7 separate regions of the Homo sapiens genome follow, and all the other regions are linked to region 5. Evidence: promoter capture Hi-C in 16 types of primary human blood cells and fetal thymus (Javierre and others, 2016). All regions are on one chromosome and are shown on one strand. Each heading gives the region's core, a stretch centred on a gene start or on the middle of the fragment in contact. The rest is flanking DNA. Distances are from core to core; before and after follow the strand shown.

Region 1 (2,923 bases), core at 411-2,910, 500 kb after region 5:
ACAGAGGAGCACGTAACGTTGTATACAATTTCAGGGGGCTTACTGATGCAACCCCTTTGCAGAAATTTTAACAGTGAGAAAATTATGACAGTGAAAGTGATCTGACCTAACCGACTCCATTTTGCTTCTAACCCCCAAACTGTCCATATTCATTCCTGGGCATAGGCCAAACTTACAGTCTTTTTGTTTGTTTTTTGAGACGGAGTTTCGCTCTTGTTGCCCAGGCTGGAGTGCAGTGGCGCGATCTCGGCTCACTGCAACCTCTGCCTCCAGGGTTCAAGAGATTCTCCTGCCTCAGCCTCCCGAGTAACTGGGATTACAGGTGCCCGCCACCATGCCTGGCTAATTTTTTTGTATTTTTAGTAGAGACGGGGTTTCACCCTGTTGGCCAGGCTGGTCTTGAACTCTTGACCTAAACTTCTGATCCACCTTTGCCTCCCAAAATGCTGGGATTACAGGCATGAGCCACCATGCCCGGCAGCAAATTTATAGTTCAACTTTGAAACAAAGATAACAGCCCTCTCCCAAAATAAACCCCTTTCTTGCCTGGGGACCAGACTGCTTTTGTAAGACTAACAAATTAGCCACGAGATTAGAAATTACGGTTTAGGAGTCATGCAGGTAGTGGCCACAGATTCTAAACCTCCCCAGTTGCTCCTAGGGATAACATCACTACTGTAAAACCTAAGATTGGTGCTCAAGATATTTTTCCGATCCTGCACTCAATGGATCCGCTGGCGATACACAGATTAAGAAACCGGATCATCCGGTTTTGTGGCCCCCACCCAGAGATCCACTCAGCACAAGAGGACGGCTTCCACTCCCTATGATTGCATCTCCGACCTGACCAATCAGCACTCTCCACTCTCTGGCCCCTACCCACCAAATTATCCTTAATAAAACCCAGTCTCCGAATTTTCAGGGAGACTGATTTGAGTAATAATAAAACTCCGGTCTCCCATTCAGCCGGCTCTGCATGAATTAAACTCTTATTGCAATTCCTCTGTCTTGATAAATCCGCTGTCTGGGAAACGGGCAAAATGAACCCATGGGGTGGTTACACTGACCCTCTGCTGCACATCCCGGACAGCCTTGTTAAGAACCCTTGGTAGGCTGGGCATGGTGGCTCACGCCTGTAATCCCAGCACTTTGGGAGCACGAGGCAGGCAGATCACGAGGTCAGGAGATCGAGACCATCCTGGCTAACACGGTGAAACCCCGTTTCTACTAAAAATACAAAAAATTAGCTGGGCGTGGTGGCAGACGCCTGTAGTTCCAGCTACTCGGGAGGCTGAGGCAGGAGAATGGCGTGAACCCAGGAGGCGGAGCTTGCAGTGGGCCGAGATCGCGCCACTGCGCTCCAGCCTGGGCGACAGAGCGAGACTCCGTCTCAAAAAAAAAAAAAAAAAAAAAAAGAACCCTTGGTATTATTGTTCCACGCTCCCATTTTACCGAGGTGGATCCTGAGGCCCAGAGTGGGCAAAGGGCTTGCCAAGGTCGCAGAGCGCGCAGAGGATTAGAACCCTGACTTCCGTCCAGCACCTGCGGAGTTGGAGACGCCCACAGGAAACGCCCACCTGACCGGGTGAGTGAGGGGGCGGGCGAGCCGGAGGGGTGGAGTTTATTCGCGCCCCGCCTCCGCCACCAGGGCTTGGGGGCGGGGCCTTCCTGCAACCTTTGCGGCTCCAACATGGCTCCGCGGCTGTGCAGCATCTCTGTGACGGCGCGGCGGCTGCTGGGGGGCCCGGGGCCTCGCGCTGGGGACGTTGCGTCTGCAGCTGCGGCGCGGTGAGAGCCCGGCCAGGCAGGGATAGACGCGCGCGGGGTGGGGTGCAGGCGCGGGGGCCAGGGACTGGGTCGTGGGGGAGGGGCTGAGACTCCTCGCTTGGAATCTGGGGGTTAGAGGCGGGGCAGGATCAAGGCCTAGGGAGGGGTCTGGGCAAAGAATGGGGGAGGTGAGAAAGGGATGGGTAGGGTCTTTGTCCTGGTTGGGACCGGGCTGTGATGGGGACCTGATGAAAGATGGTGAGAAGGGCAGGTACTGGGCCCTGGAGAGTGGGAGAGGGCAGAAGACAGGAGGAGTGGCCCATTCCCAGGCGTAGCTTGTGATTTAACACCCACTGGGGGCTTCTGGTAGTCAGCTCCTCCGTCGGGAAGTTCTGTGGGAAAGAGATGATGGCAGGGGAGCAGTGGGGGATCCCCAGGGGCCATGGCTGCACAGACCCTTTGTTCCTCCACCTCGAACTGTACAGGTGGGGAAACGGACCTGAGAGGGAATGGGAGTTGTCCAAGGTCACCCTCCCTGCTGTGCCGTGGCAGCACCAGGTCTGGGACCCAGGCCTGCCAATGCGCCATGCACTTTGCACCCAACTGGTGGCCTCCTGGGAGTGGGAGTCTGGCTGGGCCATGTGCTCTCAGCCTGGGCTTTTGTTTGGGCCCTGCTCTGGGCTGAGCTAGGGCTTGGCCTCCCTGACTGGCCCTGGGCAGCCCCTCACTCCTTGGTCCCCACAGCCCTGTACTTCCCCCATCTCTGCATATATGACCCTGCACAGTTATGACTTGGTGCTTGTCTGTCTCTCTCACTAGACCATGATCTCATTTTTCTCTGTTTCCCCAGCCTCCCACCCTCAGAGGGCTCAGGACTGTGTATGGTCAAGGAATATTTACCAAAGAAGTGAGGCCACCTGTTCCCCCTCCCCCAACCTGTGAAAAGGAAGCAACCATCCCTCCTGCCCTGCAGCCCAGGAATGAAGCTGCAAAGTTCTGATAGTGCCTGCCATGAGATGTTACAGCACAGAGCAGTGGGGCTTTTGGACAGCTGGGAAAGAGGAGTGGCATAAGCGCCCCACCTAGACTGCCCAATAATTAGGGATAAAGCTGACACCGTGGGAAAAGCCTAGAGTTTGCCTGGCACTAACAGATC
Region 2 (2,724 bases), core at 189-2,688, 410 kb after region 5:
GTTCAATCAATTCTCCTGCCTCAGCCTCCCGAGTAGCTGGGACTATAGGCACCCGCCACCATGCCTGGCTAATTTTTGTATTTTTAGTAGAGATCAGGTTTCACCATATTGGCCAGGCTGGTCTTGAACTCCTGACCTTATGATCCACCCACCTTGGCCTCCCAAAGTGCTGGGATTACAGGCATGAGCCGCCGCGCCTGGCAGAAGGAGGCATTCTTATACACGGTGCACTGAAATGGCTACCTTGCCAATGTTGCTTTTTGTTGGGAAACCCCAGGTGGCTCTGCCCCATGGCCGATGGGATGCAATGCAGGACCTCCTCCCTCAGATAGAGCCCCAGAAATAAGCAGCTTTCTCATCTGGGCAGGCAAGCCATCTCACCATTTCTAATCCACATGGACCCCTCTCACATCTCTGATTTCATCAACAATAGCTCCACTCTTGCCTCTGACCCACAGAGAAGATGGAATCATTCTACGTGATGCATCAATAGTTCACACATTGTATTTCACAGGGGGGAGCTGCAACAGCCACAGCACAGACTTGCACAGCCTCATGTGGAGACAACTCCTGAGCCAGGCCTAGGACAGGAGGGAGCCAGGCGGGAAACACAGCCCCGTGTCCTTAAGGCAACAGCACAAAGCCACCACTACCTCCCTTGCCTTCTGGATCACTGCATTAATTGGGCCACATGCTGAGCTTAATAAGGGGAACAAGCACAAGACAGTGCCATTCCTCTGTGATCCCAGGGTACTAACTGAGTTCAAAAAGCAGAACCCAGAAGTGACCACTGCACTATTTTCTGCCTTAAATAATTAAAGCACATTTAATTACTTCTTGCTTCAATCTTATCCCACACTCTGGTCATACAAGGTTTCTAAGACTGCTGCTTTTTCTAAATCCTAAGCCAAATACACACACACACACACACACACACACACACACACAAGCTCAAAAAGATAATGCAAAGACAAGCAATAAAACAGTGAAAGTTCTTCTCCAATTTTCTCCTTGTAAGTCAATGAAAAGCTTGGCCAATTTGTTCTCTAATTTCCATCATATTACAATTTCCATAAGGTGGCTTACTACATATCTACAATTCTTTTAAAAAAAAAGAAACTAAGAAAGAAAGAAAGAAAAAGCCCAGTCAGGCCAGGCAGGCATAGCAGCTCATGCCTGTAACCCTAGCACTTTGGGGGGCTGAAGTAGGAGGAATGTTTGAGCCCAGGAGTTTGAGATCAGCCTGGGTAACATAGCAAGACCTGATCTCTACGAAACAATTAAAATTAACTAGGTGTGGTAGCATGCACTTGTAGTCCCAGCTACTTGAGGGGCTGAGGCAGAAGGATTGCTCAAGCCCAGGAGCTTGAGGTTACAGTGAGCTATGATGGCACCACTGCACTCCAGCCTCAGTGACAGAACAAGACCCTTTTATTAAAAAAAAAAGCCAGGTAATCTCCTTCAGTTCCTGGCCCTGTACTTTCCCTGAGACCTCTACCCCAATATAAAAGACCTCCTATTCACAAAAGAAGTTTACTGCATACAAAGACTGTAAGGTGTAATATACGTCCCTTCATCTGAGATGGAGAAGGTATATCATTAGTTTCACCTGATGGATGAGAAAACTAAGGTCTGGAAGGTAAGTCATTGACTTACTCACATTCTAAATTTCAGATCTGGCTCCAAGGTCAGTGTCTGTCCACCTGATCTGTGGTTGCCCAGATGCCAGGTTTGTGGCTCTGCTGTGCTGTAAGCAGTGCCGATCTGCAGTGTTCCTGCTATTCTCTGCCAGGGCCCACAGACTGCATATTCCCTGACACTTTCAGATTTCTTACTTCTAAGCTTTGCTCTGCTAAGAAAAAGGTCAAAGAAAGCTCTCCTCCTCCTTCTTATTTATTTACTTATTTATTTATTTATTTTGGTATTTTGTTTCTGCTTCTGTTTTAAAACAGGGTCTTGCTTGGTCACCCAGGCTGGAATGTAGTGGTGCAATCATAGCTCACTGCAGCCTCAAATTCCTAGGCAAGTGATCCTCCTGCCTTGGCCTCCCAAAGTGCTGGAGTTATAGGGATGAGCCACTGCCACGAGCTCTTCATGAAACTGCCACTATGACCCCATGCTGGCTCAGTAGGATTTCTTTGTCCAACAAATCCATCCCATCACCCTGAAAGCATCCCAAAGAACACATTTGTGGCCCACTACCTCAGAAAGCAAAGAGATAGAGAGCTGAAAGCACACTGGGCATTTCATTCTAAATCCTAGGGCTGGGACCAGCCTCTCCAATGTATCCAAATCAGAAAGGTGCACACAGACTAATTATTACACTTCTGAGCTTGCAAGTCCTGCGGGCAGCCAACTGCAGCTGCTGCTACTCTATCTAGTAGTTTATCCAAAAACACAATTGATATTCTCAGCAGTAAGGCCCAAATTAGTTGTGTGGATTTCCATGAGCAGAGAAGGTTTATGAGTAGAAAACAATGATGCAGATCATCCAGTCTGCTGATAGATGCTCCTGGCACCTCCTGGGGCAGGTGACATGCCATAAGGCCTGACCTGCAGTGGGGAATTGCAGCCAGAGTCAAATTAGCATTCCAGCCGCAAGCACTGAAATGCCACCTGGCATTCTATCACCATCTAATTAGAAAAGGAGAAGGCTGCACAAGGAGGCAGACAGGCAAAAAAAGAAAGCAAGCTAGCTAGCCGGACGGATAGATGCATGCACTC
Region 3 (2,925 bases), core at 315-2,814, 430 kb after region 5:
TCTCATTCTCAAAGAGCCTCAAGTTAAGACTTCTGGTGTGTTCTCCAAATGAAGCGGCCTAAAACTACAGACACAGGAGTGAAAGAAGATATTCATCATTAACTTTAAATCATGTCTCATTCCCATATCACCTTAACTGTAAAAGCCCCATGAATTCATATTTCTTTTGAATCTCATAATTATCTTTCAAATAGCAGAATTGTATTGCATTGTTTTTTTTGAATCTTAAGAGAATTAATTTGTCAATTTTTTTTTTTTTTTTTTTTGAGACAGAGTCTCGCTCTGTCACCCAGGCTGGAGTGCAATGGCGTGATCTCAGCTCACCGCAACCTCCACCTCCCAGGTTCAAGCAATTCTCCTGCCTCAGTATCCTGAGCAACTGGGATTACAGGTGCACGCCACCACCCCGGGCTAATTTCTGTATTTTTAGTAGAGACAGGGTTTCACCATGTTGGCCAGGCTGGTCTCGGACTTCTGATGTTGTGATCTGCCCGCCTCAGCCTCCCAAAGTGCTGAGATTACAGGCGTCAGCCACCGCGCCTGGCCTAATTTGTCAAATTTAAACATTTTAAACATGCCACAGTTTTTGTAACACAGTTTAGGCATTTCTTCATTTAAAAAAATAGGGTGGGCACCATGGCTCATGCCTGTAATCCTAGGACTTTGGGAGGCCAAAATGGGAGGGTCACTTGAGCCCACGGGTTAAGGCTACAGTGAGCTGTGATTGTGCCACTACACTCCAGCCTGAGTGACAGTGGAAGACCCTGTCTATAAAAATAAAAAATAACTTAGAAATTATAAATGAAAGGCCTTGGTATCTCTCTATTTCTGGGAGGCTCAGAGATGTGATGCAGTAAGTCGTAACTGTACTAAGCTTTAACAGTACTCCCTGCAAGGCAGCTGTAGAGTGAGGGTAGGAGCCTGGCTCTGGAGGCAGGCTGCCTAAGGTTTTATCCTACATCTTTCACATAGTAGCTATGTGGCCTTGGAAATTTTTGTGTCTCAGCTTTCTCATCTGTAAAACAGGAATAATAATAGTATTTATCTTGCAGGACTCTTACAGGGATTTAATTAAATAAGACCAGCAAAGTTTTTAAAACTATGCTTGGCTGGGCGTGGTGGCTCACACCTGTAATCCCAGCACTTTTGGGAGGCCTAGGCGGGCAGATCACCTGAAGTTGAGAGTTTGAGAGCAGCCTGACCAAATGGAGAAACCCGTCTCTACTAAAAATACAAAATCAGCCAGGCGTGGTGGTACATGCCTGTAATCCCAGCTATTCGGGAGGCTGAGGCAGGAGAATCGCTTGAACCCGGGAGGCGGAGGTTGCAGTGAGCCAAGATCATGCCATTGCACTACAGCCTGGGCAACAAGAGCAAAACTCCATCTCAAAAAATAACAAAATAAAATAAAATAAATAAAACTATGCTTGACACATAAACCTGATGTCCAAAAGATCTCAGGTCTCTCCAAATCTGTCTTTCATTTGTCAAATGAGAGCACTGGCCTTAGAGGATCCTGAAGGGAAGTGGGGGGGTGCTGAAGTACCCCTTCTGAGGCCTTGAGTAAGGCATCCTCTCTCTAAGCCTCAACTTCCTCATCTGTAGAGTGAGGGTCATAATAGCATCTGCCTTATAGGGGATGATGAGGATGAAGTAAAACAATACAGGTAAGCATTTCGCACAGCACATGGCTTATGGTGAAAGTCAGGTATTATTATTATTGCCATCCTCTGCATTACTTATGACAACATTGATCATTGTTTGCCTCCTGGATTTTTGAAAGGGTAGGATGCTAAAAGAAAGCCCTGTTAGTTGCATTTGCAAATCTCTCAACAGTGCTGACCAAGCTCTAATGCAAAAGCAAGCAGATATGCAAAGTTAAAGCTGTAAATTCAGGTTCCAAAGGCATGCAAGATTAACAACCCCCATTATTATACCAAGTTCTCAGCTAGTCCACTGATCAAATACATCACATTTGAGCAATGCAGAGGTGGCAAAGACCCTGCTGAAAGAACTTCTCCACTGGACTAACTCTGCTTCCAACATTAAAGCCACCTTGATGTATGTGTCTGCTCTTAAATGTCTCTTTAAACAACAAGGGAAGAAAAAAATCCTGAAGTTGTGGTAGCTGGTGAATACAAAAGAAAGTCATACCACTCCAGGGATGGAGATGGCTGCTCCTCATCGTTTTATGTAACAGATGCATTCTGATAATGTAACCAGGGTGAATTTACTGGGAAGCTAAGGAAGCTTGGATTTCAGGTCTCTGCACCTTCATATGCCTGTACCTAATTTGGTACTCTTGCATTAAAGACAATCCCCTAAATTATTAAAATTCAGACCCAGAAAACCTGGACCTACTCGTGACATAAACTAATTGAATTTAAATTCAAGGAGTTTACCATTTAAAAGACTTGTGGAGCCAATACTTAGGTTAAACGGAGGCTCTATCTGGATATGAAATAATTTCCTGTCTATAACTATGAGAAATGAGATAAAATGCTCTGAGTAGGATTTCACAAAAACATAAAGGTTAGATTACTACATATATAGAAAAAAGACAGACCCCCTCCCTACTATACCCACACACCAGTCAATAAATTCTTAAACCTATAAATGAAAATCCATAAAAATACCAGAACAAAACATAACAGAGTATGGATATAATAATGGTTGGTAAACGCATTCTAAAAGTCACTCAAAACATACAAAGAAAAAGATTGACCAGTCCTATACGTAAAATAGACAAAAGGTTGATAACTCATAATACATGGAGCATCTACAAATCAATCGGAAAAAGATGAACAGGTTGGGTGCAGTGGCTCATGCCTGTAATCCCAGCACTTTGAGAGGCCGAGGCGGATGGATCACCTGAGGTCAGGAGTTCCAGACCAGTCTGGCCAACATGGTGAAACCTCATCTGTA
Region 4 (2,831 bases), core at 100-2,599, 390 kb before region 5:
AGAAGTAACTAGCACACCTCACATTATAGGGATTAGGGTGAGAAAGGAGACTGGTGAGAAATGGGCAGGATTAGTGGCTCGGGAAAGGGCAGTGGAGGAACCCAATCTCTGTACATTACTGGCCTGGCAGGAAGTGGGTGTAGACAGCAGCTGGGGCTTTGCAGAAATTGAGGCTGGAATGTGAAATGGGGCAGGGCTGGGGTGTGGAGAGTTACCTAACTGTTCCTGAGTACATGCCACGGGCTCCCCAGGCAGAGGGAAATGGCCAGCATTAGCCCTGCCTTCTCCTTCTGGATCCAACTCTGTGAGGAGCCCAGAGCAAGGAAGATGTCCCTGAGAAGATGTCTGATACTGACCAACATCTACTAGCCTAAAGAGACCCTGGGTTAGCCCAGAATAGAGGCCCACTGTAGCTCAGGGGTGGGTACCCAGGATGCCCCAGGAGTAGGGGACCTAGAAAAGCCCTAGGCAGAATGGTGTGGGCTAGCCCAGCTGCTGGGGCCGAGGCTAGCCCGGGGTTGGTTTCAGCCCATGCAGACCCCCTCAAGGCTGAGATGTGGCCATGTGGCCATGTGGCCATGCTGCAGCCTCAAGCTGATGGTTTCTTCAGAGAGAGTCATGGATAACAGGGTCTCTCCCTTCCTGGAGCTGAAGCTTACAGCTCCAGGGGGGACCAGGAGAGCTGAAGGAGAGTATCCCTCAGATGCACACAACCCTTGACAGTCCCTATGTCTCATTAGATCTTCCCTCTAACCACATAAGGAGGGGAAGGCAAACATTAACGGCCCCATTTTATAAATGAAGCAAGTGACGTTCAAAAGATGCCATCTGTCCTCTTCTTGACTGTGGACACAAAAGAAGGACCTGGGCCTCCCACCCCCAACAAAGTGAATGAACTGTTTACTACACTGACCAAGCCTCAGAATCCTACCCTTTCAGAGCTGGGTAGAGGGGGGTGATCTTTGCAGAATCCTAAGTGTGGGAAGACTGGGGCTCAGGGAGAAAGGGTACCCACAAGGAGCGGTCCTCATTCTCCTGAAACTCCCCCTTCTCCAGGGCAGTGGTCACTGGAGGCCTGGGAGGGTCAGCGGGTTCTACAGGCACTCACTCTGGGCTCCAAGGTCACGGGAGGCCAGCCTCCCTTCCTCCCAGCTGCCTCCTCCTGGCAGGGGACCTCTGGCACACGCTCCATGCCCGCCTGCCCCTCCAGATCTGTCCCCAAGCCAAGCAGGGGACCTCACTTAATCCCAATTATGTAATCTGCAATTTAAACAGTTGGCCCATGAGGAGGCGCTTGGAGCCACGCCCAGGAGTGGGGGCAAAAGGACCCAGCTGGGTCAGGGCTGACAAACTAGGCTTGGCCTCTTGCCTATAGTGGCCACCACTCCTCAAGCCCCAGCCAGCACCATGAGCGGCCGAGTTGGAGACCTGAGCCCCAAACAGGCAGAGACCCTGGCCAAGGTGAGAGCCCCTCCCCCTGGAGTTCCGGAAGACCAGGGGAAAGGGGCTGGGGGGTGGAAAGAAGTGGCTGGAATCCTGCCCCACTCAGTTGATTCAGCATGTCCTTGACATTGTCTCTTTGGTGTTACCTCCCAAAGGGTCAAGCCCCACGGTGCCCAGTAACATCAACCCTGTCCCGGGCGGGGGTTGAGGGACTAGCACCACTTCCAGGCAATAACGTGGGTGGTGCCCACCCAAGTCAAGCCTGACTTCTTCTCATCCAGGAGCCAGAACCAGAGAGGTTTACCTGGCAGCCAGGTACCCCCGTTCCTCCCTCCCAGGCACCATAGGTAGGAGCTGAAAGATGCTGCTGGTCTGCCCTTTAACCCCTTCCTCTTTGGGATCCTGAAAGATGACCAGTCTGTAAAAGCCCAAGAGACAGAGCAGAAAGTGTTGTCTTTCAAAGAGCTAAAGGAAGAAGAGGACATATAATTATTAACCATGTTTTAATAGAAGATGGGATGAAAAAAAGCAGATGTTTTGAGGGCTAACACATGGAGGGAACTAAGAATGCATCCAAACTCCAATCCACTTATTCATCCACCCAATTATTTATCCTTTCTTCTTCTTTTTCTTCTTTTTTTTGAGATGGAGTCTCTGTCATCCAGGCTGGAGTGCTGTGGAGCGATCTCAGCTCACTGCAGCCTCTGTCTCCCAGGTTCAAGCAATTCTCCTGCCTCAGCCTCCTGAGTAGCTGGGATTACAGGCATGTGCCACCACACCTGGCTAATTTTTGTATTTTTAGTAGAGATGAGTTTTCACCATGTTGGCCAGGCTGGTCTCAAACTCCTGACCTCAGGTGATCCACCAACCTCAGCCTCCTAAAGTGCTGGGATGACAGGCGTGAGCCACCATACCTGGCTGTTTATCCTTTCTTTCATCCACCCATCCCTCTTCCTACCCACGCAGCCACCTATCCATCTTTCTTTCTCTCAATCACCCACCCATCTCTCCTCTGTCCATTCACTGATTTATCCACCCACCCACTCTCCATCCATCCATCTATCCATTCATCCATTGATTTCTTCTCCCTTTTTCCATCTACCTACCCACTCACCCATCTATTCTTCTTTCTAACCATTTATTCATCCATCTATCCTCCTTCCATTCATCCACCTATCCAGTGATCCATCTGCCCTTCTATTCAACCATTAACCCATCCTTTCATCAATGTGGGCCATTTTGCATGTGGGAGGAAAGGAGAGGTTGTGAAAACAGTCTTTGAGTCTGGAGGCCAAGGCTCAATGTGAGAGAGCCACTTTAACCAGCATCTCTCTTGCCAGTTCCGAGAAAACGTCCAGGATGTGCTTCCTGCCCTGCCCAACCCTGAT
Region 5 (2,894 bases), core at 44-2,543:
AAAAATAAAAAAATTTAGCTGGGCGTGGTGGTGCACACCTGTAGTCCCAGCTACATGGGAGGCTGAGGCAGGGGAATCGCTTGAACCCGAGAGGTGGAGGTTGCAGTGAGCTGAGATTGCGTCACTGCACTCCAGCCTGGCACAGAGCTCGACTCCATCTCACAAAAAAAAAAGAAAAAAGAAAAGGAAAGTGAGGCTAAGCAAGGGAACTTGGTTTGCCAAAGTTCGCCCAATTACTTAGACCTTCCAACAGAGCTTGCTTCAATAAATTATTCACCATTTTAACAAATTCCATTTGGCCCTGGTAATTCCCCTACCTGTGCTCATTCAGAGAAAATGGCTTCCACTATATTAATTGAGTATTTGTTCATGCTCTTTTGACTTTTTAATATCTTTTTCATGCTATTTCAATTATTCATTCATTCAACATCTACGAGGCAACTACAATGTGCCAGGCAACAACATGCAGGATTACGAGATGTAAAATACTGTTCCTACCTCAACAGATTGATGGTCCAATGGAGGAGAAATTAGATTATGATCCTGCTGAGATTAAAAACCCCTTTAGGGGCCAGAACCACCCCTCATTTCTACCAGCTGAGTACACGATGTACTGCACAGCCTGTCCAGTGCCCTGCGTACTCGGACACATTTTGGCGATTGGCTAATCCTGAGGTTCAAGACTCTCTCCCTCTGTTTAGGGAACTAAAGTCCATAGGGATTAATTGGCAAATCCTCACTAAAGTGAAAGGGGAGCTGAGGTCAAGGGGGGCGGGGTGTCTTGTCCCCACCTCTCTCACCTCTTGGCCTGTACCAGGCATCGATCCTGGCAGAAAACCTCAATGGCTGGGGAGAATCTGACCCAGGTAAGATAAACTTCCCCAAAGCTCCACCACACACGGCCCCCTCCAATGTCGGGCACAGACATCGTCTGCCCTGCCAGCCTCATCATGGCTCATTATGGCTGCTGCTTGCTCAGCAAGTTTGATTTCATGTCCAGAAAAATCTGAATTTCAAAACTACCTGGGTGCTCTCTGTCCAGTTCTGGGGGAAATCGCCTCCCTTTTGCCTTCCTCCTCAGCCCCCTGCCCTCCCGATTCTCTTCACAGTACTTTAGGCCCTCACGAAATATGATACTTTCAAATCCAACTTAAAGCCTTAAGTAATAAGAAAAGAAAAAAAAATTGTTTTTTGACATAAAGACAGAACTAACAACGCCCGAGTGCCCTCTCTGGGCCGAGACCTCGCGTCTCAACAGCCCTCACCTCAGCTCGTCGACGCTTCCCTCCCACCGGGGGTCAACGGCCTTTTCCGGCCCAAACCCGCTCCTCGGCTCATGAATAGTCAACGAGGCCTTTCTGGGCGGGACCAGAGGTTTCCTCATGAATAATTCATGACCCGTCCACGGCTAGCCTGGGCGACCGGCCTCGCTAGACTTCATGAATATGCAAAGCAGGGGCGAACGGCGGCTAGCCGGCCCCTAGCCCGCCCGGCCCCTCAGCAGCCGCCTCTCAGCCACGGGCTGCACACTGACCCGACGCGACCTTCGGTCAGGGGCCGCCAGCCTGGGCCACCTATACAACGACAGCCTGCTCCGGGGCTTCCTGAGGAGGTGCCTGCCCCGCCGAGGTTAGGACCCGAGGGACCGTGGGGCTCGGGCGGGCCAGGACGCCAGGCCGGCGGGTCCCAGAGAGGTCTGAGGCGGGCGCGGGGCGGCGTAGGGGAGGGAAGCGAGAGCCTGGGGGGCCCAGGGACCCGAGTTAGAAGAAGGCCCGAGAAGTGCGGCGCGGTGGCTCCACCTGGGATCCCAGCACTCTGGGAGGCTGAGGCGGGCGCGTCACTTGAGGTCAGGAATTCGAGACCAGCCTGGCCAACATGTTGAAAACCCGTCTCTACAAAAAATACAAAAATTAGCTGGGCGTGGTGGCGCGCGCCTGTAGTCCCAGCTACTTGGGAAGCTGAGGCACGAGAATCGCTTGAGCCCAGGAGGCTGAGGTTGCAGTGAGCCGAGATTCCGCCATTGCACTCCAGCCTGGGCGACAGAGCGAGACTCCGTCTCAAAAAAATTTTAAAAAGTACAAAAATTAGCTGGGCCACCTGACGTGCGCCTGTAGTCCCAGCTGCTCGGGAGGCTGAGGTAGGAGGATCGCTTGAGCCGGGGAGTTTGAGGTTGCAGTGAGCCAAGATCGTACCATTGCACTCCAGCCTGGGCAACAGAGGGAGACCCTGTCTCAAAAATAAAAAAAAAGAAAAGAAAGAAAAAAGACATAAGGCCAGAAGGCCAGAGCTTTCCAATACTTGAGGGCATCTGCAACCTCTTCATCCCTACCCTGGACCTGACTTTGCATTCTTTTTAACATTAATTTGTAATTATGCAAATAAAACATAAATATATTCTCCTTTGTGCCCTACCCCTAATCTCAGTTTTTTCTGCCCTGGTAACTGTGGGAGCAGTTGGGGGTGTGGCTCCTTGGATCGTTTCTCACCTGTTTAGGTAGATATTTCGTATCCTGTGGTGCTTTCCAAAGGCTCCTGGAGTCCCATGAACCTCCCCAAGGGGATTTCCCAAGAGAGTAGATGAAAGAGTGAGCCACTTGAAACCTGTTCTTATTTTGTTTCTGCAGGAAAGAAAAAAAAAACTATTCAAGTTGGCGAGAACATGAGTTTAGAACATAATGACTAAAACTGAAATTTGGGCTGAAATATTCTTTTAGTGCAAGTTTTCTCAACCTTCTCCCCACCCCCACCATCATAACAACCAAAAATTTCTCTAGACTTTGCCAAATGTCCCATGGGGTGTGCAAAATTGCCCTCTGTTGAGAACTACTGCGTTCACCCTATACTTTCCGGAAGTAACTGCTTTTTAAGCTCCAACCACACAGATGGTTTGTCTG
Region 6 (2,910 bases), core at 117-2,616, 390 kb after region 5:
GTTTTAATTGTGGGAGACACCTTTCCCGCATATGCAATCTCTCTCTGTGATTTATCACTTCCCCGGGTGTTTTTTTAACTGTTCTACTTCACTTCACTGGCTCTGCAACTCCAAGGGGAGCCTGCACAAATTGAAGATGACATTGGACTTTTATGTCTTCCTGATCCAAGAGAAGCTGCTGGCGCTTGAGATAAATGTCAAGGCTCCTCTTCTTCCTGTTCCTCCATCAGTGGAAACCACAGCTGGACCTTGACGGTTCAAACCATTTACTAATGAAATAAGCTTTCTAAGCTCCACCACCCCCATGATTTCTCATCCGTCAATTTCCTTGGAAATCCTGTGCTCCTTGGGAGACCACAGGCACAAAAGTGATGACTTTGTTTGCTGGCACTCAGACCAGCTCAGGATCGGGAGACTGAAACCCCTCTCTTGAGAAGCGATGAAAGAAAGACCCTGAATGTATATATTCCAGGACTGCATTCTACCATCAAGGTATGGTGGTACAGTTACGCCACACCAAGCCACCACTCCCATCATTGGCACTGTGGCTCTGAAGGCACGAAAGCCAGGCTCAAGGCACCCTGTGTCCCTCAACCCCAGCCTGATGGCCAGACTCACTCCCCTCACTCGGAAGGCTCAGATGCCAGGACACGTGTCGCTCCCACTGAGAATGAAACAATTCCAGGTTCCCCAGGGCGGCTTTTGATCGCTAGCACTGCTCTGACTCAGATGCAAATGGCAAACTAGTTGTACTGATCATCAATTGGGAAAAATGGAAATACAGGAAGTTAAGATTAGCAAGAGGAGAAAAATACATCCTTGCAAACCCAAGTGAAATATTACAAGGAAACAGTGAAGTTAATTATGGCTATTTATTTATTTATTTATGAGATGGAATCTTGCTCTTGTTGCCCAGGCTGGAGTGCAATGGCACGATCTTGGCTCACTGCAACCCCCACCTCCCAGGTTCAAGCAATTCTCCTGCCTCAGCCTCCCAAGTAGCTGGGTTTACAGGCATGCGCCACCACACCTGGCAAATTTTGTATTTTTGGTAGAGACGGGGTTTCTCCATGTTGGTCAGGCTGGTCTCGAACTCCTGACCTCAGGTGATTCACCTGCCTCGGCCTCCCAACGTGCTGGGATTATAGGCATGAGCCACTGTGCCCGGCCAATTATGGCTTTTTAAAAGTTTTTACTTTCAGCCACGTAGCAATTAATACAATGAATGAATATGCCCAGCACAAGCAGTGTACCTAGATGTGGCGGTGTGGCCCACATGCCGTCCTTCGCCCTTTGCTGCAGGATCACAAGCAGATTTTCCCTTTTCAGAGTTTTAACCCCTTACTGAGCTCTGACTGTGCACTGAGTGTTGCACACACATTCTCTCATTTATTCCTCACAACACTCCTGGGGGCAAAGACTATTTTTATCCACCTTTTGCAGGTGAGGACACTGTGCCTCAAGAGAGAGTAAGAATTCATCCTTTTTTATAGCTGCATGTATACATATGTAACAAACCTGCACGTTGTGCACATGTACCCTAGAACTTAAAGTATAATAAAAAAAAAAAAAGAGAGAGCGAGCGAGTAAGAATTATAGAGAAAGGAAGTGGCAGAGAAGTAGGAACCTCGGTTAATCAGACTGGATGGCCGCTCAGCATTCCTCAGGGAATGCGGTAACCCCTGGTAACCTAAGGGCAAACTCCTTGAATCAGCTTCAATGTTACACAGCCCCCATGGGTACTGCTGAAACCACACAGCAGACTCTGAGACCTCTCAGTGAGGCAGAAGAGTACTGAAAACGAGGACAAATACAATGGCCAGGCAAGATGGCTCATGTCTGTAATCCCAGCATTTTGGGAGGCTGTGGCAGGAAGATCACTTGAGCTCAGGAGTTCGAGACCAGCCTGGAAACATGGCGAAACCCATCTTTACAAAAATAAAAATAAAAAAATCAGTCAGGCATGGTGGCAAATGCCTGTAGTCCCAGCTACTTGGGAGGCTGACGTGGGAGGATCGCTTGAGCCCAGGAGGTCGAGGCTGTCACCAAGGTGGGTGACAGAGTGAGATCCTGTCTCAAACAAAACAAAACAAACAAAAAACCTTATTAAAAACAAAACAGGCCAGGCACAGTGGCTCACTTTTATAATCCCAGCACTCTGGGAGGCAGAGGCGGGCAGATTGGTTGAGCTCAGGAGTTCGAGACCAGCCTGGGCAACATGGCGAAACCCCATCTCTATAAAAAATACAAAAATTAGTTGAGTGTGGTGGCTAGTACCTCTAGTCTCAGCTACTTGGGAGGCTGAGGCAGGAGGATCACTTGAGCCTGTGAGGTGGAGGTTGCAGTGAGCCGAGAATGTACCAGCCTGGGTGACAGAGGGAGACCGTGTCTCAAAACAAAGCAAAACTAACATCAACACAGGCTGGTTTGATCCCAGATTAGCAAGCTTTTGGACATTGGAAACTGTTCCATTCACTATCAGCTTTTGCATCTCATCCCCAGGCATTCTAGATGGAGTTCTGCCCTTGACATCTAGGTATCCCCACATCCAAGCCTAAAGCAGTACTTCTCTTCAGCTAGGCTTGTGCCAGCCAGACTGCAGCATGCACCACCCCAGAGCCACCCTAGTGCAGGCATGTGGCTGCTCATCAGTCCCGGTCACTGACCACAGGCACTGCCAAAGTCTAGAAAATGGAACATGCACTGAACTTCATGTGCAGCAAAATTTAATAGTGCAGCATTATTGAATCTAGTGATGCTGAGAGAATGCCTGTCCCATTAAACATCAAGTCCCTGCTTTTATTAACCCTTGATTAACCCGAGTGTTTGATTAACTGCCTGGTAGCCTGCTTTAAAAACAAGTTCACATCGAGACATTAAAATGGATGAATAAATAAATGCATCCATGTA
Region 7 (2,915 bases), core at 363-2,862, 480 kb after region 5:
GCAGTGAGACAAGATCGCGCCATTGCACTCTAGCCCGGTGCACTCTGGGTGACAGAGCGAGACTCCGTCTCAAAAAAAAAAAAAAAAAAAAAATTAGCCAGGTGTGGTGGCACACGCCTGTGGTCCCAGCTACTCGAGAGGCTGAGGCAGGAGGACTGATTGAGCCAGGGAGGTTGGTCAGGGTTGCAGTAAGCCATGATCACACTACTGCATGCCAGCCTCGGTGACAGAGTGAGATTCTGTCTCAAAACGAAACAAAACAAAAAAGAATTTTCACCAGTTTTACAGAGGAATGGGTTCCTTAAGCTGTCATGCTGGAAGCTGATCTTATCTAAGGCTGCTTTTGTGTTACAATGGTAGAGTTGAAGAGTTGAATAACTCCAACAGAGATTCTCTAGTCTACAAAGTTGAAAATATTTACTATGTGGTCCTGTACAGAAAAAGCATGCCAACCCTTGCTTACTGCTGCCAATGCTGCTGGTCCACAAACCACACTTTTAGCAGCAAGAACTTAAATTACTTGAGAAGCAGTACTGTACGGGCTGTGAGCTTGGTTCAAAACCCCACCTTGCCATTTACTAGATAAATGGGTTTGTTCTGAGGATTAAATGTGCAAATGTCTAGCACTTTGAAAATACTGAACAATTGATAGCTGTTATCATCATGTTGGAAACTATGTGGAAAGTAAGTATGAGATGTTATATCGTTCTTCAAAGGGTTTTTTTTCCCAGAATATGCAAGCTTTAGAAAAGGGAAACAAGTATTGGCTTTCCAATAAACAAGACGCAACTTCTAATACCTGGGTACATAACAATATTACCTAATGAAAGAATAAACTTTCAAGCTTTTAAGCGTAAGCCTAACTTAAGCCTGACACTGAAATCCTGAATTTTCTATCACAGGAGCATCCAGCTTCTTCCAATAACAATGAATGAAAATAACCTTCAGGAAATGCCAAAACCCAAAAGTCCTATGAAAAAAAGCAGCAATCATCTTTAACATGAGGTTTTGGGCCTAGTTGGCCCTTCCGGTTCTGCCCGTCTCTAGCTACACCCATAAGATGATATAAAGAGAACCTCTCGAGCTTCCACCTCGACTGTCACCGCAGCAGTCGGGGCTGCCGGCCGGTTACCTCGCAATTGAACTCCATCTCGGCGTCCATGGTGACGATCCTCACGGTGAACGTCTTGGGTTGCTTCCTCTTGAGAGAGCTGAAGCTCATGCGGGAAGCGATGGCCCCGGCCATGGCGCGGGGCTCAGGCCCGGGACCCTCGCGCCCCACGGCCTGCACTCTGAGCCCTTTAGCCCCCCTGGAGTTGCTGCACAGGCCTCAGGGCCACCATGGTGGCCGGCTGCCCGGCCCGGGAACGGTCTGGGCTGCGCGGGTCCCCAGCGGCCAGCATGGGCCGCGAGGACCCTGCCTGAGCGGAAAGGGGAGTTGGGGGACGGGCCCTGACGGCTGCAGGGAGGGCACAGGAGCCGGGACCTTCGGTGCAGGCGCGACCCGGCACTCCGGGATTCGGGCCGGAGATGCCGGGGACGCCTCGGGACGGGACCCCTAGACGGCAGCGGCCCAGACTCCGCGCGCCTCTCAGCGGCCGACTAGGGTCACGGGGCCGCGCTGCATCGGGCGCGTACGCGCGCGCGTGGCTGTCACCGTCCTCACTCCGCGCGCCCGCGGGAAGCGCACCCTCCCCACAGCCCGGGGCCTGCTCCCGGCCCCGCCCTCAGGTCGCCCAGACCACTACGCGCAGCGCAACCGAACCGGAGGCTGACGCATAGATGCTGCGATTGGCTGGGAAGGCCAAGGTAGGCAGGACTTTCCCGCTCCGTCCCGCCTCCTTTGGGGTGACTCCACCAATGGAAAGTTTCACTCTAACTGCAAAAAAAGCAGGCCTAGGCTCGGCGTTGAGTGGCTACAGTGGCAGTCACTCTGAATGCTTTTGTGCCTACTCTAACAAGACTGGTTGAGGCGGCGGACCTCTGCTGACCTTACCCGGGAAACCACTTAGAGGCTGGATCCGGGGCGAGGGGAATTGGGTCCTTCGTTGGCCCAGGGAGGGACTCTTCGGTTCAAGTAGGCTCCGAGTGTGGCGCCCCAGGGGACTGCGTTTCGGACACACGGCGAATATTCTTCTTTGGCAGTTAATCACATATACCGACCCCTATGAAACTTTAAAGACACTTGTGGAGGCCTGTTAGGTTTGCTGGCACTTTCCCGCCAGATCCCTCTGCTTCCCTTTAGAATTATTATTATTATTGTTATTATTATTATTATTAATTATTATTATTATTGGGACGGAGTTTCGCTCTTGTTGCCCAGGCTGGAGTGCAGTGGCGCGATCTCGGCTCACTGCAACCTCCGCCTCCCGGGTTCAAGCGATTTTCCGGCGTCAGCCTCCCGAGTAGCTGGGATTACAGGTATGCGTCACCACGCCCGGCTAATTTTGTATTTTTATTAGAGACGGGGTTTCTCCATGTTCGTCAGGCTGGTCTCGAACCTCAGGTGATCCGCCCGCCTCGGCCTCCCGAAGTGCTAGGATTACAGGCGTGAGCCACCACGCCCCGCCTAGAATTATTATTGGTTATACCTACCTCGTGAGGTTGTTGAATTTCAGCGCACTGAATACATATAAGGCTTTAGAGCTGAGCCTGGCATCCTATGAAATTGCTGAATTTGGGTTGAAAATGAAAGCATTCTTTATTTTATACTCTATGATGCCCATTTTTGAACCGTATTCATGTATTATTTATTTAGTGTCATCAAGGGTTCTAACGGGTGTAGGGGGGATAATTACACCTTTCTGTACTTAGATAATAAATTCTATTTTAAAATAGCTCTTAGTAGTCAAATAGGGACAATTTACTGTGTTTTTTCGTTTGTTTTTTGTTTTGAGACAGAGTTTCGCTCTTGT

What was found. The method cuts DNA at HindIII sites, captures the fragments that hold promoters and counts their contacts. A CHiCAGO score of 5 or more calls a contact.
Region 1: the fragment with the promoter of NIPSNAP1 here is called in contact with the fragment with the promoter of HORMAD2 in region 5 in 15 of 17 cell types (non-activated CD4 T cells, total CD4 T cells, erythroblasts and 12 more); the score reaches 12.2 in non-activated CD4 T cells.
Region 2: a fragment that was not itself captured here is called in contact with the fragment with the promoter of HORMAD2 in region 5 in 1 of 17 cell types (erythroblasts); the score reaches 5.7 in erythroblasts.
Region 3: a fragment that was not itself captured here is called in contact with the fragment with the promoter of HORMAD2 in region 5 in 4 of 17 cell types (erythroblasts, megakaryocytes, M0 macrophages and 1 more); the score reaches 11.6 in erythroblasts.
Region 4: the fragment with the promoter of SEC14L3 here is called in contact with the fragment with the promoter of HORMAD2 in region 5 in 5 of 17 cell types (neutrophils, activated CD4 T cells, monocytes and 2 more); the score reaches 9.9 in neutrophils.
Region 6: a contact is called between a fragment that was not itself captured here and the fragment with the promoter of HORMAD2 in region 5, in 4 of 17 cell types (M0 macrophages, erythroblasts, megakaryocytes and 1 more). The highest score is 8.4, in M0 macrophages.
Region 7: the fragment with the promoter of NF2 here is called in contact with the fragment with the promoter of HORMAD2 in region 5 in 4 of 17 cell types (megakaryocytes, M0 macrophages, total CD8 T cells and 1 more); the score reaches 10.9 in megakaryocytes.

The regions. Positions count from the first base shown.
Region 1 is chr22:29,579,850-29,582,772 of GRCh38, reverse strand. NIPSNAP1 (nipsnap homolog 1) reads left to right here and starts at 1,660. Exons shown (of 10, transcript NM_003634.4): 1 at 1,660-1,788. The coding sequence starts at 1,691. RefSeq lists a silencer at 1,854-1,903 and an enhancer at 1,887-2,499. The HindIII fragment of the contact is 18,053 bases long and covers 1-2,923 here.
Region 2 is chr22:29,668,728-29,671,451 of GRCh38, reverse strand. All of the region lies in intron 10 of NF2 (NF2, moesin-ezrin-radixin like (MERLIN) tumor suppressor), which reads right to left. Among named protein-coding and RNA genes, the nearest start is that of CABP7-DT, 50 kb to the left of the region's middle. The HindIII fragment of the contact is 813 bases long and covers 1,032-1,844 here.
Region 3 is chr22:29,650,785-29,653,709 of GRCh38, reverse strand. The region is part of intron 4 of NF2 (NF2, moesin-ezrin-radixin like (MERLIN) tumor suppressor); the gene reads right to left. Among named protein-coding and RNA genes, the nearest start is that of NF2, 49 kb to the right of the region's middle. The HindIII fragment of the contact is 1,376 bases long and covers 877-2,252 here.
Region 4 is chr22:30,470,535-30,473,365 of GRCh38, reverse strand. It overlaps SEC14L3 (SEC14 like lipid binding 3), which reads left to right and starts at 1,349. Exons shown (of 12, transcript NM_174975.5): 1 at 1,349-1,461; 2 at 2,784-2,831. The coding sequence starts at 1,408. The HindIII fragment of the contact is 8,474 bases long and covers 657-2,831 here.
Region 5 is chr22:30,078,863-30,081,756 of GRCh38, reverse strand. It overlaps HORMAD2 (HORMA domain containing 2), which reads right to left and starts at 1,293. Exons shown (of 11, transcript NM_152510.4): 1 at 1,266-1,293. It overlaps HORMAD2-AS1 (HORMAD2 and MTMR3 antisense RNA 1), which reads left to right and starts at 1,500. Exons shown (of 5, transcript NR_110541.2): 1 at 1,500-1,629. RefSeq lists enhancers at 1,223-1,302, 1,140-1,837 and a silencer at 1,643-1,692. The HindIII fragment of the contact is 6,725 bases long and covers 1-2,894 here.
Region 6 is chr22:29,684,618-29,687,527 of GRCh38, reverse strand. The region is part of intron 15 of NF2 (NF2, moesin-ezrin-radixin like (MERLIN) tumor suppressor); the gene reads right to left. Among named protein-coding and RNA genes, the nearest start is that of CABP7-DT, 34 kb to the left of the region's middle. The HindIII fragment of the contact is 2,164 bases long and covers 285-2,448 here.
Region 7 is chr22:29,602,330-29,605,244 of GRCh38, reverse strand. NF2 (NF2, moesin-ezrin-radixin like (MERLIN) tumor suppressor) reads right to left here and starts at 1,612. Exons shown (of 16, transcript NM_000268.4): 1 at 1,133-1,612. The coding sequence starts at 1,246. RefSeq lists a silencer at 1,267-1,846 and an enhancer at 2,097-2,226. The HindIII fragment of the contact is 9,228 bases long and covers 847-2,915 here.